2 separate regions of the Homo sapiens genome follow, and region 1 is linked to region 2. The links are contacts of gene promoters, found by promoter capture Hi-C in blood cells and fetal thymus (Javierre and others, 2016). All regions are on one chromosome and are shown on one strand. Each heading gives the region's core, a stretch centred on a gene start or on the middle of the fragment in contact. The rest is flanking DNA. Distances are from core to core; before and after follow the strand shown.

Evidence for each region. The method cuts DNA at HindIII sites, captures the fragments that hold promoters and counts their contacts. A CHiCAGO score of 5 or more calls a contact.
Region 1: a fragment that was not itself captured here is called in contact with the fragment with the promoter of KCNE3 in region 2 in 1 of 17 cell types (megakaryocytes); the score reaches 5.3 in megakaryocytes.

What each region holds. Positions count from the first base shown.
Region 1 is chr11:74,009,037-74,015,926 of GRCh38, forward strand. It overlaps C2CD3 (C2 domain containing 3 centriole elongation regulator), which reads right to left. Exons shown (of 33, transcript NM_001286577.2): 33 at 3,682-4,489. The coding sequence ends at 4,349. UCP3 (uncoupling protein 3) reads right to left here and starts at 49. Exons shown (of 7, transcript NM_003356.4): 1 at 1-49. RefSeq lists enhancers at 1-297, 2,870-3,019. The HindIII fragment of the contact is 2,844 bases long and covers 2,574-5,417 here.
Region 2 is chr11:74,463,357-74,470,604 of GRCh38, forward strand. It overlaps KCNE3 (potassium voltage-gated channel subfamily E regulatory subunit 3), which reads right to left and starts at 4,193. Exons shown (of 3, transcript NM_005472.5): 1 at 4,042-4,193. The HindIII fragment of the contact is 7,698 bases long and covers 635-7,248 here.

The DNA.
Region 1 (6,890 bases), core at 2,746-5,245, 450 kb before region 2:
GTGGCAGCAGGGATTGGATGGCCCCTCCTTGTCATTCACTGTTGTCTCTGCTGCTTCTGGCTTGGCACTGGTCTTATACACACGGGCTGACCTGAAACCTTATCCTAGAGAAGTTGGTTGACAGCCTGATCACTTGACAAGAGGCTGGCTGGTGAGGGCAGTGAGGTGAGAGGGGAGGTGAGTGAGTTCCAGATCTGGTTCAGTCCTCTTGACTTGGGGTGCTTTAATATAGCTCCTTTAAGCTGTGGACGCTTCCTTGGTGACAAGGGTGTATGGGGGGGTGGACCTGCTGCCACTTTTGAGTCCAAAGGTCAAGGCCTCCCACGATAGGCTGGGCACAGCTCTCCCAGGTCTCTTAATAATAATGTCATTTCTTTGTGCCTACTATGTGCTAAATATTTTACATACATTACTACTATTTTCCACAATCCTATGAGATAGGTACTATTAGGATTCTATTTTTTTTACTTTTTTTTTTTGTAATTTAAAATTTTTTAGTAGAGACGAGGTCTTGCTGTGTTCCCCAGGCTGGTCTTGAACTCCTGGGCTTAAGTGATCCTCCTGCCTCAGTCTGGCAAAGTGCTGGGATTATAGGTGTGAGCCACTGCACCCGACCTAATTTTTTTTTTTTAAATTACAGATTTATTGATATAGAATTCACATACCGTACAATTCATCTGTTTCAAGTGCACAATTCAAATGGTTTTTAGTATATTCTGAGTGGCACAACCATCAACACAATCTATTTTAGAACATTTTCATCACCCTCTCACCCTGGAAAAACTCCATACACATTGGTAGTCACCTCCCTTCCCCCGCTCCCCAGCCTCAGGCAACCACTAATCAATCTACTTTCTGTCTCTATAAATTTGCCTGTTCTGAACACTTCCTAGAAATGGAATCATCCAATATGTGCTTGTTTGTGACTGGCTTCTTTCACTTAGTATAGTAATGCTTTCAAAATTCATCCATGTTGGAGCCTGTATCAGTATTTCGTTTCTTTTTAGTGCTGGGGATCCTAAAATCTTACCACTTATTTTACTGAGGAGGAAATGGAATCTCAGGGAAGTCATGTAGCCAGCACGTGGCGGGGCCTGACTCCAGCCTGTAAACTGTAAGGCATTTTGGGCTTATCTACTGTGACCACCATTCTCTCCAACATGACACTTGGAGGCTTTAGCATGGACACTGCTGGAGCCAAGGGAGCTGGGACCTGGTGGAAGGGTGCCCCACAGAAGCTACTGGAGGCTCCATCTGTGGGCACTCAGAGTAAGGGCTGGGCACAGCTGAATCGGGCCCCAGGTGATGGGGGAAGGGGAGAAGAAGAAGAGAAGGGAGGGGAGGAGTGAGAAGCAGAAGGGAGGGAAGGAAAGGGAGTTAACTGGGTAGGGCAGAGGAGGAGTAGGCAGAAGTCTTTTCTGGACTGGGGCACAGAGCCAGCGTCACAGGGCAGGTGGTCAGAAGCATGGATGTTCAAGTGCAAAGCTTGGGCTGTACCTGTCCTCTTCCTTGGACCAGGCCCTGACCTTAATGTCAGCAGAATAAGCAGCTGCATTAGTGTTAAGAGGGAAGTGGCTGTCAGGGCTGCTGAGATTAGGAAGGCTCAGGAAGTAGGTTCTGAGCTCCATCTGTAATTGCTAGTCTAGAGGTGATGCAGTAAATTGCAGGGAGTCTGTGGGGGAAGAATAGAGTAGAAGCCCAAACCAGGAGGCAGCAGGCTCTGGAGAAACCTAGTGGGAGGGAGGGCCAGGCTCTCTTTAGCTTGGGAGCTTGAGGGCAGGGCCAGGTCTGCCTGCTTTGGCTCCATGTCCTGAGGCCAGCCCATGCTAGAAGTCCGAAGGCTGCCTGCTCTGGGTTGGGATGCAACCAGCCTAGGGATCAGAAACACCTATTCACAGGTCTCTGTGGAGGGAGGGCTCAAAGGGAAGAGAGGCAGCCACTGGCTCGTTCTGGTGGTGGGAACACCTATCTCATGCCTTAATCCATGCCACACGCCTGGTCAAGTCATTTATCTCGGAGTTGGCACTGGGAGATAGATTCAACTTCCGGGGATAAGATATTGATAAATAACACACTGTTTTGAAGTGGAGGTGGGAGGTCTCCACCCTCAGGGTCCTTTTGTGTTATCAGAGGCTGCTCTCAGCCTGGGGTAGGAGTGTGTCCTCCTGACCCCGATCAGGTTGTCTGCGGGAGCTGGAGTGGGATTTGGAGGAATATTCTTTACCTGGGGCTTTCCCCCTCAGGCCTGGGCCCTGACTGCCCCTCTTTAGGTCCCCTGGGCCCCAAGGGAAGTGGGGCCCTGGGCCTTGAATGCTCTGTGCTGGTGACTTGAGAGGGAGGCTGGCCTCTGTGGTGCTGGGGAGGGGTGGGCTGGCAGGCGTCGGAGCAGAGATAAATAGAAGCGGGAGGGCTTGTCACCAAGAAGGCAGCACCCACTCCTTCCTTGAGGTTCCCGCATCATTTTGCACCCTCTGAGGCCCAGGAGTGCTCTGCCTGCCCCAGTGGCTGCATGCTTGCCTCTCTACTGGTTTGCTCCCGAAAGTCAGGAGAGTGGGTGGGGCTGACATTTCCTAAGCTTCCACCATGTGCCAAAAGTAGGCGAAGCACTTTCACAAATGTCATCTCATTTGATCTTCCTCACAACCCCATGAAGCTGGGGTGATTATCTCTGTTTTACAGACGAGGCCACAGAGGCTCAGACGCAGTGAGACTGGTCTCTATCTCCAGCTGCACACTGCTCACAGGCTTTCCTGGCTCTCTCTCTATAGCTGTCCACAGCCTGGGCCAATTCTCTGTGCTCACCCCAAGACCTGTCTCTTCTAGGAAGCCTTCCCTGACTGCCCCAGCCCACATGGTCTTTCTCCATGAAGTCCCTAAATTCAGAGCACTTATTGGCTGTACCTTGTTTTGATTACTGAAAGCAGTAGCCTTGCAATACCTCTGGGATTTCTTGTGTGGTTAATCACTTCCTAACTACACAAACAGAGGCAAAACACTGAACTTACAGAAACTCTAGATATCATAATATCTAGAGTTAGAGAGCTGTTTTGAGGACTGAGTGAAGTGACATGTACTTGGGGGTGAAAGCCTGTTGCCCAGCCACACTGCTCACTCTGCACATTTGGCTCCCGCGACCCCATTTTTTTTTTTTTTTTTTGTGATACGGAGTCTTGCTCTGTTGTCCAGGCTGGAGTGCAGTGGCGTGGTCTCGGTTCACTGCAACCTCCACCTCTTGGGTTCAAGTGATTCTCCTGCCTCAGCCTCCTGAGTAGCTAGGACTACAGGCGTGCACCACGCCCAGCTAATTTTTGTATTTTTTTTTTTTTTAGTAGAGACGGGGTTTTGCCAGGTTGGCCAGGGTAGTCTCAAACTCCTGACCTCAGGTGATCTGCCTGCCTCGGCTTCCCAAAGTGTTTGGATTACAGGTGTGAGCCACTGCACCCATCCATGGCCCTTTTCTTGTCCTCCCCACGGGGCTTTGTCTGATGGATTTCAAGCATCAGCAAAGGAAATACTGGGTGTCACTGTCATCTGGACCAACCTGATTCTGGAGGAGCCAGAAGTCTCATGGTGATTGATCTTCGTCTGCGTGGGGTGTATGGTTGTTAATCTTTCTCTCTGGCAGTTAGGGCACACACGAATTCCTAGCATCCCCACTCCAGCGAAACACTTGTGCACAGATTACAAACACCAATATGATTTTATTCAAACACAGGCAAGAACAATGACCTTCAGAGCTGGGTAAAAATAATAAGTTAAAAGCATGGTTAGAATTTTAGACAATCAGATAAAAAGTTTGAAGGAAGTGATTTCCCCTTCCTCTCCTAATTGATTAATTCAACACAGCATAAAAATAATTTGTATCTATAAAATATCCTTGTTCCCACACAAATGAACTGGAGGTGGCCCTAGGATTTCCTTGACTATGCACAATGCACACAATCTACATGTCCCTCCTCCCCAACTTTTAAGGCAAAAATGGTCCTGCATCTTCAGGCAGAGGGTGGGCTCATGCCAGCAGTCAGCTGTGTCAAGGACACTGGGGGGCGTTTCTCCACCGAAAGATGCCTGCTTGGGTCCCACTTGGGCGCGGATTCCATTTTATTTCTAGCCTTTGCCTCACCACAGAAAAAAGGAGCTGAAATTCTGGCAAGTGGACACTGGACTGGTTTGGGGCACTCCTCCAGTCTGGGCTGACCGGGTCTCTTGAGGCATCCGTGGCCTAGGCAAGTGGTGGTTTCAGGACTGTGACAGCCCTGAAGGAGCCAGACCTGGTGCCTCCTGCAAGCTGGACAAAGCTGACGGAGGGTGGGCAGGTGTCTCCTTCCCCCCAGCCCCTCAGGCTGCGTCAGTCTTTCTGGGAGTACTGAGAAGAAAATATCCGTGCAATCCTGAGAGTTTCTTCCTCAGGCAGGTTGAGGGGGAGCGAGTTAGGTCTGGGGCGACAAGGCCTTTGGGAGAGAGCTCCCCTGGTGGCTTCGCTCTTGTCCTGGAGAGGAAGAAGTCAGCTAGGTTACCACTGAGGATATGGCACCACCAATGGATGACGCTGGTTTCTCTCATCTTTTGGTCCTTTGGTTAATATTTATGTAGAGCTGCCTGGTTTACAAAGCGCTTTACGTACCTTATCTTGCTTGACCCTTACCTCAACCCCATATGGGGGGTATATCATTCTCCCCATGTCGTGGATAAGGAAACTACATTCAGGTGGAATAAACTCAAGGTCCCACAGCTCTGAGTAGCAGAGCTGGGACGTGAACCCCAGCCCTGACTCTTTCTGTGCCTCTGGAGAAGGAGGCAGCGTCACCTCCAGGATAGGTTTGAATCCTCATCCCTTCTCCTGTTGCATGGCTTTAGACAAGTCATTTGTCCTCTGGGTTTAGTCCCATGTGTGATGCTGGGAACATATCCAACTCTCAGGGAGATGGCGGTGAATAATACACTCTCTGTTTGGCCCTTTGGAGCTCCTGGAGTTGCCAGGTGACATAAAGCACCTACCTACTGCTTGGCTACCAAACTTTGATCTCTCTGACTCTGGCTGACAGGGCATCACTAATTCCGCCTTTAAGGTACTTAAACCTGTGGGCTATGGTATCATGGTCCTCTGGACTCCTCTAACTCATTTTTCTTTCTTTTTTCTTACTCCATGTCAGGCTCCTGTGCTGAAGGAGCTCAAAGCTATACAGGAAAGCCATCCCAGACAGCTGGCTGAGAGCAAGGCCCTGGGGAAGAAGTGGGGGCCTGATAGGGGAGGGGGCAGTTCTGAAAGGAGATGGGAGCAGCCTCCACAGGCAAACCTGGCTGACTTCATGGCATGCAGCTTGCTCTTCCCTGTCATCAAGTCCCATGAGCTGAGGCTGTCATAAGCTGAAGGACTATTGAGAGCACACTGTACCACTTCCTGGGCACTGAGAAGAAGCTTGGTGGAGACCCTAGAGACTGGGACCACCTACCCCCTGCAGTTCTGCTCATGAGAAACTGAGGCCCAGCGAGAGTTGCGCCCAGCGAGAGTTGCGCCCAGCGAGAGTTGCTTCTGGCATCAGTAACATTCAGTTATTCTTTCTTTCATGTCTTCAATCTTTTTTAATACCTACTTGAGAGGGGCGCAGAAATAAACAGAACTCCGTTTTAGGCTTTCTCAGCTCAGAGTTAAGCCCTGGAGGCAGAGAGATCTGCCTAAAGAATTAGAATTGCCAGAATGAGATAAGGGGAGTGGAGTCAGGCATCCCTGATCTACTGCCTGGATGTCAGTTTCCCACCCATGAAATAGAAGTGTGGATGGGAAACCTTGAGGGTCCCTGCCAGTCTAGAATTCTAAGTGCCAAGGGAATGTCTACAATCTGGGAAGCTCTCAGTGCTATGAGCCCACAGGCAGCCTTTCCTTATAACCAAGAGCAAAGTGATACTAGGGCTGGGCTGCACAGCAGAGACTAGAAGATCTATCTCCCTGCCTTCTAGGCAGGTCTAGGCTAGAAGGGAAGAAGGAAACCCACTTTTTGCTGGTGTTTGCAGTTCTTCCTTCCAAAATACAGGAAGCACCTGCACTGCATGATGCCTCAGACCAGGGGAGGCCAGTGGCCAGCCTCTGCCTGTTGCTCTCCCACTTCCACACTGGGTGCTCCTGCAGGGCACGGCCTGGGTCTGAGGCTTGGGATCCCAGCGAGGCCAGTTCCAAGACAGGAGCCTGGGAGCTGCTAGACCAGTGTGGGTGGGACCAGGCCAGGGTAACCACAGGTTTAAATTGGGTGGGGAGGAGACTCTTTGTAGTAAGCTTCTCATTCATTCATTCTAGAACCAGTGGTTGTTGTCCTACCATATGCCAGGTCTTTAGTTAAGTTAAACTCTCTCAGGCTCTATGTAGCACTTTAAGCTTGTGTATATCTTTCTCTACTCCCAAGATCCAAGATGGCTGTTTCCTGAGCTATTTGGGATTTAGGATGACACAAGTCCCATTCCTGACCCCCAGCTGTACTGCAGGTAGATTTTCTGGGTCATCAGTTGTATCTTACCTTCCATTTCTTTCTCTGCTACTCTGAAGGGGAAGTAGGGAGATGTTTGTTTTATGAGCCAGATGGGAAAACAGGCCTTAGAGCATAGTATTCTATCTCAAATCCTAAAACCAGGCATTTGTTTCCCCATTTTCTAGAAGAGATGTCTTCTCTGTTTTAGAGAGACTTAGATGAGTCTTGTTCTCCATGGCTGGAAGGGCCAACTACCTCAGTTCATGAAATGACCATAAAAAGACCTCTGTTGGGCTGGGTAGCTCACGTCTGTAACCCCAGCACTTTGGGAGGCCAAGGCAGGGGGATCGCATGAGTCTAGGAGTTTGTGACCAGCTTGGTCAACATAGGGAAACCCTGTCTCAAAAAAAAAAAAAAAGGAAAAAAAAA
Region 2 (7,248 bases), core at 2,943-5,442:
AGGCTGGGGTGCCAGGGCCTCCTGTCTGCGTTAGGAGAGGCAGAAAGCTGATGAAGGCACAAGTTGGTTCTCTATGGGGCTCTGGGGCTGCCTCTGGGGCTCAAGCTGGGGACTGGCAGTCAGCAACAGGGGAGTTTTGCCACTGTTTCTGAGCTCCTTGGCTTCCCTGTCCAGGAGAGTCCCTGATTACTGAGATCCTTGGATGGGGGAGATGGAGCTCCTGCCCTGGAGAGGTCTTGCCTTGAAATAGAAGATAGGCCAGTGAGGAAGGAAGGTGAGCAGATGGCCAAGCTGAGAGGGACTTTAAGGATCATCTAGAATCTAGATTCCAGGCCAACCCCTCCATTTCGTAGATGAGGAAACTGAGGCTCAGAAGGGAGAAGTGACTAGTCCAAAATGACATGGCCCATAAATGGCAGCACTCAGACAAGAACCCAGGTGTTTGGGCTACTGTTCAGGTGCTCTTTCCACTACAAATGGCAGTGTTTCCTCACACCTAAGCTTCACATCACACCAGACACAGCCTGTTAGTGTCATGGGGCATCATCTCCTCTAACTTCGTCACTATGGCCTTTTCATGCACCACAGATTCTCGCCAATCTTAGTCAATGATCCAGTGAGATGGAGGTTGGTAAGCTTGGGAGGAGGAGTTAGACTTCGTTTATGCTCTCATCTTCCATGCACCCCACTGCTCCAGACCTACTCCTGATTCCCCAGATGAGCCAGGTTCACTCTCTGTTCCTGCTATTTCCCATACATTCACAGGTTCTCACAAACTGCACTTGCCTTACACTTGTCCAACCCCTAACTTGGAAGTTGGGGAATAAAGCTGTGATCTGAGGGATGAACTGGGGATCTTAGTGGGGTTTTCATTCAGGTTGCTCTGGGGAAAAGTGAAACTCTACCCTTGGGTCTTTCTTTCCCGTCACTCCGTTTCAGCTACTCTTTCAGAATGAGCGTCTTCAGTGTCTGGAAATGAAGTACAGAGAGGTAGGTAGAAAAAGTCACATAAAGCAGGTAGGTGATCCAAAGACAGTTCCTGGGGTGCACAGTTTTACCACTGTCCCCTTGGTGGTCTTACCACTCCTGTGGATTGGAGAGCTGGTGGAGTGGGAGAGGAGTTGAAGGAGTAGCCCTTAGCATCCAGTTGGAAGGACAAAGGAATAGAATCTGAGCTGGAAGAGATCTTCATGATCATGTTGTTGGTGCAACCCCCTCATTCAACCAGTGGGAAAATAGACCCTCCTCCCCAAGGGAATCACCTGCTTAAGGTCTCACAGCTCAGTAGTGGCAGAGTTGGAGCCAGAAACCAAGTATCTTGACTTCCCCTCCACAGACCTTTCCACTATAAGTTCCCTTCTGCCAGTAGGGCAGACTCTAAACTCTTCTGATTACCACTGAAGCTCCTTGAAATGTGACTCTGACACTGGCCTCATCTCCCCACAGCTCTTTTCAGTGGCCTGCACCCATGACACTGAAGTACAGGCCACTCTCCAAATATTCCTTGCACTTGCACATCTCTTGCCTTTGCTCATGCTGTTTTCTTAAACAAGAATGCCCTTCCTCTTTTTACCTGCCTGGCAAACTCCTACTCATCCTTCAAGACCCAACTCCAATTCATCTCTGCAGACCTTCTCCTGGGACTCCTCCTTCCTCACTCCCTAGCCAGTTAGTCTCTCCCTCTTGTTTTTTCCCAAAAGTGCTTTGCACGAAGGCTTATTAGAGCACTATACTGTACTGAAACTCTGTGTGTGTGTGTGTGTGTGTGTATGTGTGTGTGTGTATGTGTATGTGTGTAACTGTGCGCTTTAAGGTAAGAGGGCAGGGTCCTGTGCCTCATACATTTCTTTATTTCCCAGCCCTGATACCTAGCAGGCATTCAAGAATAAATGAATCAATGCCTCTTCTCTAAGAGCATTCCCCCGCTCTGGCACACGCACATACATTCATGAAAACAGTTTACAATATTTAAAAAGCAACCTCCAGGGCAGGGCAAAACAGATTTCATTTGGTCTGGGGAAGGGATGGCTCAAAGAAAAGAAGCCATCTCAGTCAGGTGGGGTGAGTCAGAGGAGGAAGAATTCTAAGCCTTCTTTGGAAGCCCAGATGCTCCCTGCACCTGGACCCCATTCAATCCAAAGGGCAAACATTCTTGGCCTCAAAACACCAGCAATGGCTTTGCAACCCTCTTCCCTGTGTACCTACCCAGGGTGTGGCCACATACACCCACCCACTGCACACACACACACAGTCCAACTCCCCAGTCCCTCAGCCTGTGATCTTGCCGTTCAAGTGTTCCTTTCATGATTCTAATCTTGGCTGTATGCTTGGCTCTGTGTCCTTGAGCACTGCATTTACTTCCTCTGAACCTCATCTATAAGATGGGGATAATGATCCCTGCCCTGCCTACCACACATGAGAACTAGAGGAGACAAGAGATGGGAATGTTTTAGAAATTGCAAACATACAAGATAATTATCAGGCAGGCTGGTCACACTGTTTTCCTTTTCTGTCTCCACATCTTTCCTTTCCCCCCATATTACCAAGAACAACCATCTCTGTGTCTCCTTTCCCACTCCAGGTCTCCTAGCCTCAGAAGCAGCCAGGAGGTTCTTATTATTCTTCTTGATTCCCAGGAACCTCACCTTCTCCAGAAGCCTTCCTGTTTCCTACCCTCTATGATCATTCCCGCAGTCCCTTATCATTGAGGGGTACCATTCTGTAGTCCTGTAGCTGGTGGAGAACACATCAGAGGGGGAATCAGGAGACCTGGGTTCCTGCCCCTACTAGGCCAACACGTCTAGCCGTGCGTTTTGGTTAAGTAACTTTATCACTCTAAGTCTATATCCCTCTAGGCCTCATTTTCCTCATCAGTAAGATGGAGTTTCTTGTCTTGCTTCCCTCTTAGAAGGTATTTTGAGCACTCGCACATTAAGTTTATGGATGTGCTTTGAGACGTATAGACTGAGTGAGGGATGGAGAAGGTGATGGTTATCATCTCAAGGAGTCAAGAAAATCTGAAAGCAGCTTCTAGGCCCCCAGCATGGGTCTTCCTCCATCAGGAACAGACAAAGTGGACGGATGCAAGGAAATAAGGAGGAGCTCACACGTTTACAACATGCCTTTGTAGGTGAAGTGGAGAGAGCCCTGGGCTAGGACTGAGGAAACTTGGGTTCTAATTCTGTTTGGTCTCTGTTGTAACCTTAGGTAAATCATCTCCCCTGGGGCATCAGTTTCCCTATATGCAAATTAGTGGAGAGGATTTTAGGAGGGATACTCTGGTGGGCTTTCACGCAAGAACTAAACTCATTTATTTTCGAGATAAGAGACTCTGAGGTCCAATCCCCCTTTCCCCTTCTGTCCCATGGGGTATGCAGGCAACAGGAGCAGGAGGCCCGTTTTACAAATGGTGGCCCAGGAAAAGCGAGCACAAGGCGCAGAGCTGAGGGATGACTGCCCGGGTTTACACAGCCTGTAAACTAGAACTCAAGTCTCCCGACTCCCAGCCTCGACCTATGTTACTGGCAGCAGAAGATGCTTTTGGGAGTCACCAGGTTTCCCGGGACTAGGTCAGACAGGGTGAAGGACACAGTGAGGTGTAGAGGGAATGGGCAAGTCAGCTCCGCAGAGCCGGTGGCTCCAGCCAAATGAGACTGTGCTGGGTCCTGAAATGTCGTTTCTGCGTGTGCACTGGCTGCCAGCTGCAAGTGTTCGCTTGCACGTCTGTGGGTGTGGAGGAACTTTTCTTGTGGCCGTCTTGAGGGCTGGGAATAACGGCGCAAGTCCCCACGGTTTCCAGACGGGGCGCGCAGAGCCCAGCTCCCTACTCCCACATGCTGCTCCACGATCACTGCGCTCGGGAGGATCGGGGAGGATCCGGGAGGACTAGCTTGGTATTTGCAGCGCCCACCCCTCCCCCACTCCCCCTCGGTTCCACAGTCTCACGGAGAGCGCGCCGTGGCCCTTGGAAGGGAGGCGGGAAGACCCCTCATTTCCACCCCAGGCCGCAGCTCAGCCTTCCCAGCTGGGTGGGTGCCTTACCTGCCTCTCAGCAAGGCTCCGGGGCGCCCGTTTGCTCGCTGGACACGGCGCCCTCTGACCGAGGGTGGCCCAAGCGCTGCGACCCTGTGCATTCCACCAGCCCCGTTCCACTCCGCGGGTGCCCAGCACCGCCCAGCGCGCTCTCTGGCTCTGGGCTCCCACCCGCGCTCGGCTCCCTTTTCCCTCCCCCGGGCGTCCCCTCCCCCTGCCCCGCCCGGGCCCCAGCACACCCACTTCTCCCCGGGCTGGCCTGGAGTGCCTCCGCCCAGCTCCTTGGCCTCCCCCGGCTGTGGGCTCCGACCCTTCCGTCCCCTGCAGCGCCTGCTTCCTGGACCAGAGACCGAAAGCCTCTCGCTCCGCTGGGCCTCAGCAAGCCCAGCATGAGGCCGATCTCCAGGAGTCGGTTTTGCTCCAGTGTGGCTGTGTGGTGGTGGGCGAGTCGCTGCCCCTCACTGGGCCTTGGCCTGGCTGTAAAGTTGGTACAGTTCCTCCATGCATTCTTCACAGGCTTATGGTTGAGGTCAGATGAGACCTTTGAGTCCAAAGTATTAAAACCAAAGGGTCAACAGCAAAATAATATGATTCTTACACAAACTCTTTTCCACACAGGACGCAGAGGCCCAGTTGGAGAAGGGATTTGCCCAGGTAGCAGAGCCCAGACCCAAAATCCACTACACACCCCTCTGTCTCTGAGTAGCACCAGCAAATGTTTCCTCCACCAAGCCTCAAAAGTTCGTGACAGTGCCTGACCAACTTGTGTTCAGCCGCACCTTACTCATCTCTGTCCCAGAACAGTTTATTTTCCCACCACCATGCCCTCACTCAAACTGTTGTTTCCTTGCTGGTGACATTGCAGGCTTCAGAGAACTGGGGCAGCCGGGGCAGCTGAGGAATAAGAGCCAGGAGGCTAGTGGCAGAGGAAGGGACAGTTGCAGAGAATTTCTCCGGGGGACCCTGTGGGGTGCCCTTTTACCAGCTCACTGCCTCAGAATAATTAATAACAGCCTCAGGCCAGCTCTTTCACTCCCTTGCAAAGGTCTGCTCCAGGATATCTGAAGCACATACTCTCAATTACAGAATCCCAGAATATATCTAAGAAGTGCTATCGTTTTAAAAAGACCTACTACAAGGTGGGTATATTGTATATTGTATACAATATACAAGGTGGGTATATTGTACCCACCTTGTTTTGACCCTACTATTCCTTTTTCTCAGTCTGGAGATCACCTCTCAGAAAAGTCATCCTAATCACCTAAGCATGCAATCTCAGTTTCCTTCCTTCCTTCCTTTCTTTCTTCCTTCCTTCCTTCCTTCCTTCCTTCCTTCCTTCCTTTAGACAGGATCTCACTGTGTCACCCAGGCTGGAGTGCAGTGGAGTGATTATGGCTCACAGCAGCCTTGAACTCCTGGGCTCAGGTGATCCTCCTCCCTTAACCTCCTGAGTAACTGGGACACACCACTATGTCTGGCTAATTTTTGTATTTTATAGAAATTGGGTTACTCCATGTTGCCCAGGCTGATCTCGAACTCCTGGGCTCAAGTGACCTGCACACCTCCACCTCCCAAAGTTCTGGGATTACAGGCATGAACCACTGTGCCCATCCTGCAACCTCAGTTTTCAATCTGCCTAAGAATCCCCTGGGGAGCTTGTTTTACTAAGTAGACTTTTGGGCTCCACTCCAGAGGTTCTAATTCAGGAAATCTGGAGTAGAGCCTAGAAATCAGCATTTTCAAACAAGATTTCCAAATGACTCTGATGCAAATGGTTCTTGAGACTAGCCATGAGGAAGCAGTCCTGGCTTGGTCAGGGTTCTTTCTCAGATCCTGCCCACGGCCTTGCATTTACTCTGTAGGACTGTCTATGACAGTTATAGAAAGTAACCATTTGTCCACCCCATCTGCTAGGTTGTGAGTTCTTTGAAGATAGGGATTGTCTTTTGTTCTAATAAAATCTTAGAACCAAAGTCTTAGAATCATATCATCTTAGGGTTCTGGAATGTAAATTGGAAGAACTCTCAAGAGTTTCCTAGTCAAATCCCTCATGAGCCTAACAGATTCTCCCATTTCTTTATTTTTGGAAACATATCACCCAGGCTGGAGTGCAGTGGTGTGATCTCAGCTTACTGCAAACTCTGCCTCCCAGGTTCAAACAATTCTTGTGCCTCAGCCTCCTGAGTAGCTGGAATTACAGGTGTACCACCACACCCAGCTAATTTTTGTATTTTTAGTAGAGACGGGGTTTTGCCATGTTAGCCAGGCTGGTCTCGAACACTTGACCTCAAGTAATCTGCCCGCCTTGGCCTCCCGAAGTGTTGGGATTACAGGTGTGAGCCACCACACTCTGCCTCTATTTCATTTTTGAAATGAGGCTATCCAGCTTCTCTTGCACACCTCTAGGGAGCTCAATGCCTGCAAGGCAGCCAGACAGCTCTGATTGTTAGGATGTTCTCACATTTTAACAAAAACTGCTTCCTGTTGACTTCTACCCTTTGGTCCTTGCACCCATTGGAGACATGAAATAGAAGTCTGATCTGTGTTCCCTTTTACAGTCTTTCAAGAATTTAAGGTCGGCCAGGAGCAGTGGCTCATGCCTGTAATCCCAACACTTTGGGAGGCTGAGGTGGGTGGATCACTTGAGCTCAGGAGTTCAAGACCAACCTGGATAACATAGTGGGACTTCATTTCTACAAAAAATAAAAAAATTAGTTGGGCATGATGCTATGTGCCTGTAGTACCAGCTACTTGAGAGGCTGAGGTGGGAGGATTGCTTGAGCCCAGGAGGTTGAGGCTGCAGTGAGCCAAGATTGTGCCACTGCACTCACTACAGCCTAGACAACAAAGTGAGACCCTATCTCAAGAAAAAAAAAATTTGCTGGGCGTGGTGACTCACGTCTGTAATCCCAGCACTTTGGGAGGTGGCGGATCACGACGTCAGGAGTTCAAGACCAGCTTGCTCAATATGGTGAAACTCCGTCTCTACTAAAGATTAAAAAAAAAAAATTAGCTGGGTGTGGTGGCATGCACCTGTAATCCCAGCTACTTGGGAAGCTGAGGCAGAAGAATCGCCTGAACCTGGGAGGCAGAGGTTGCAGTGAGCTGAGATTGCGCCACTGCACTCCAGCCTGGGTGACAGAGCAAGACTCTGTCTCAAAGAAAAAAAAAAAAAGAATTTAAGGTCTATCCTCTACTCCCCCTTCTCTGGGGTGA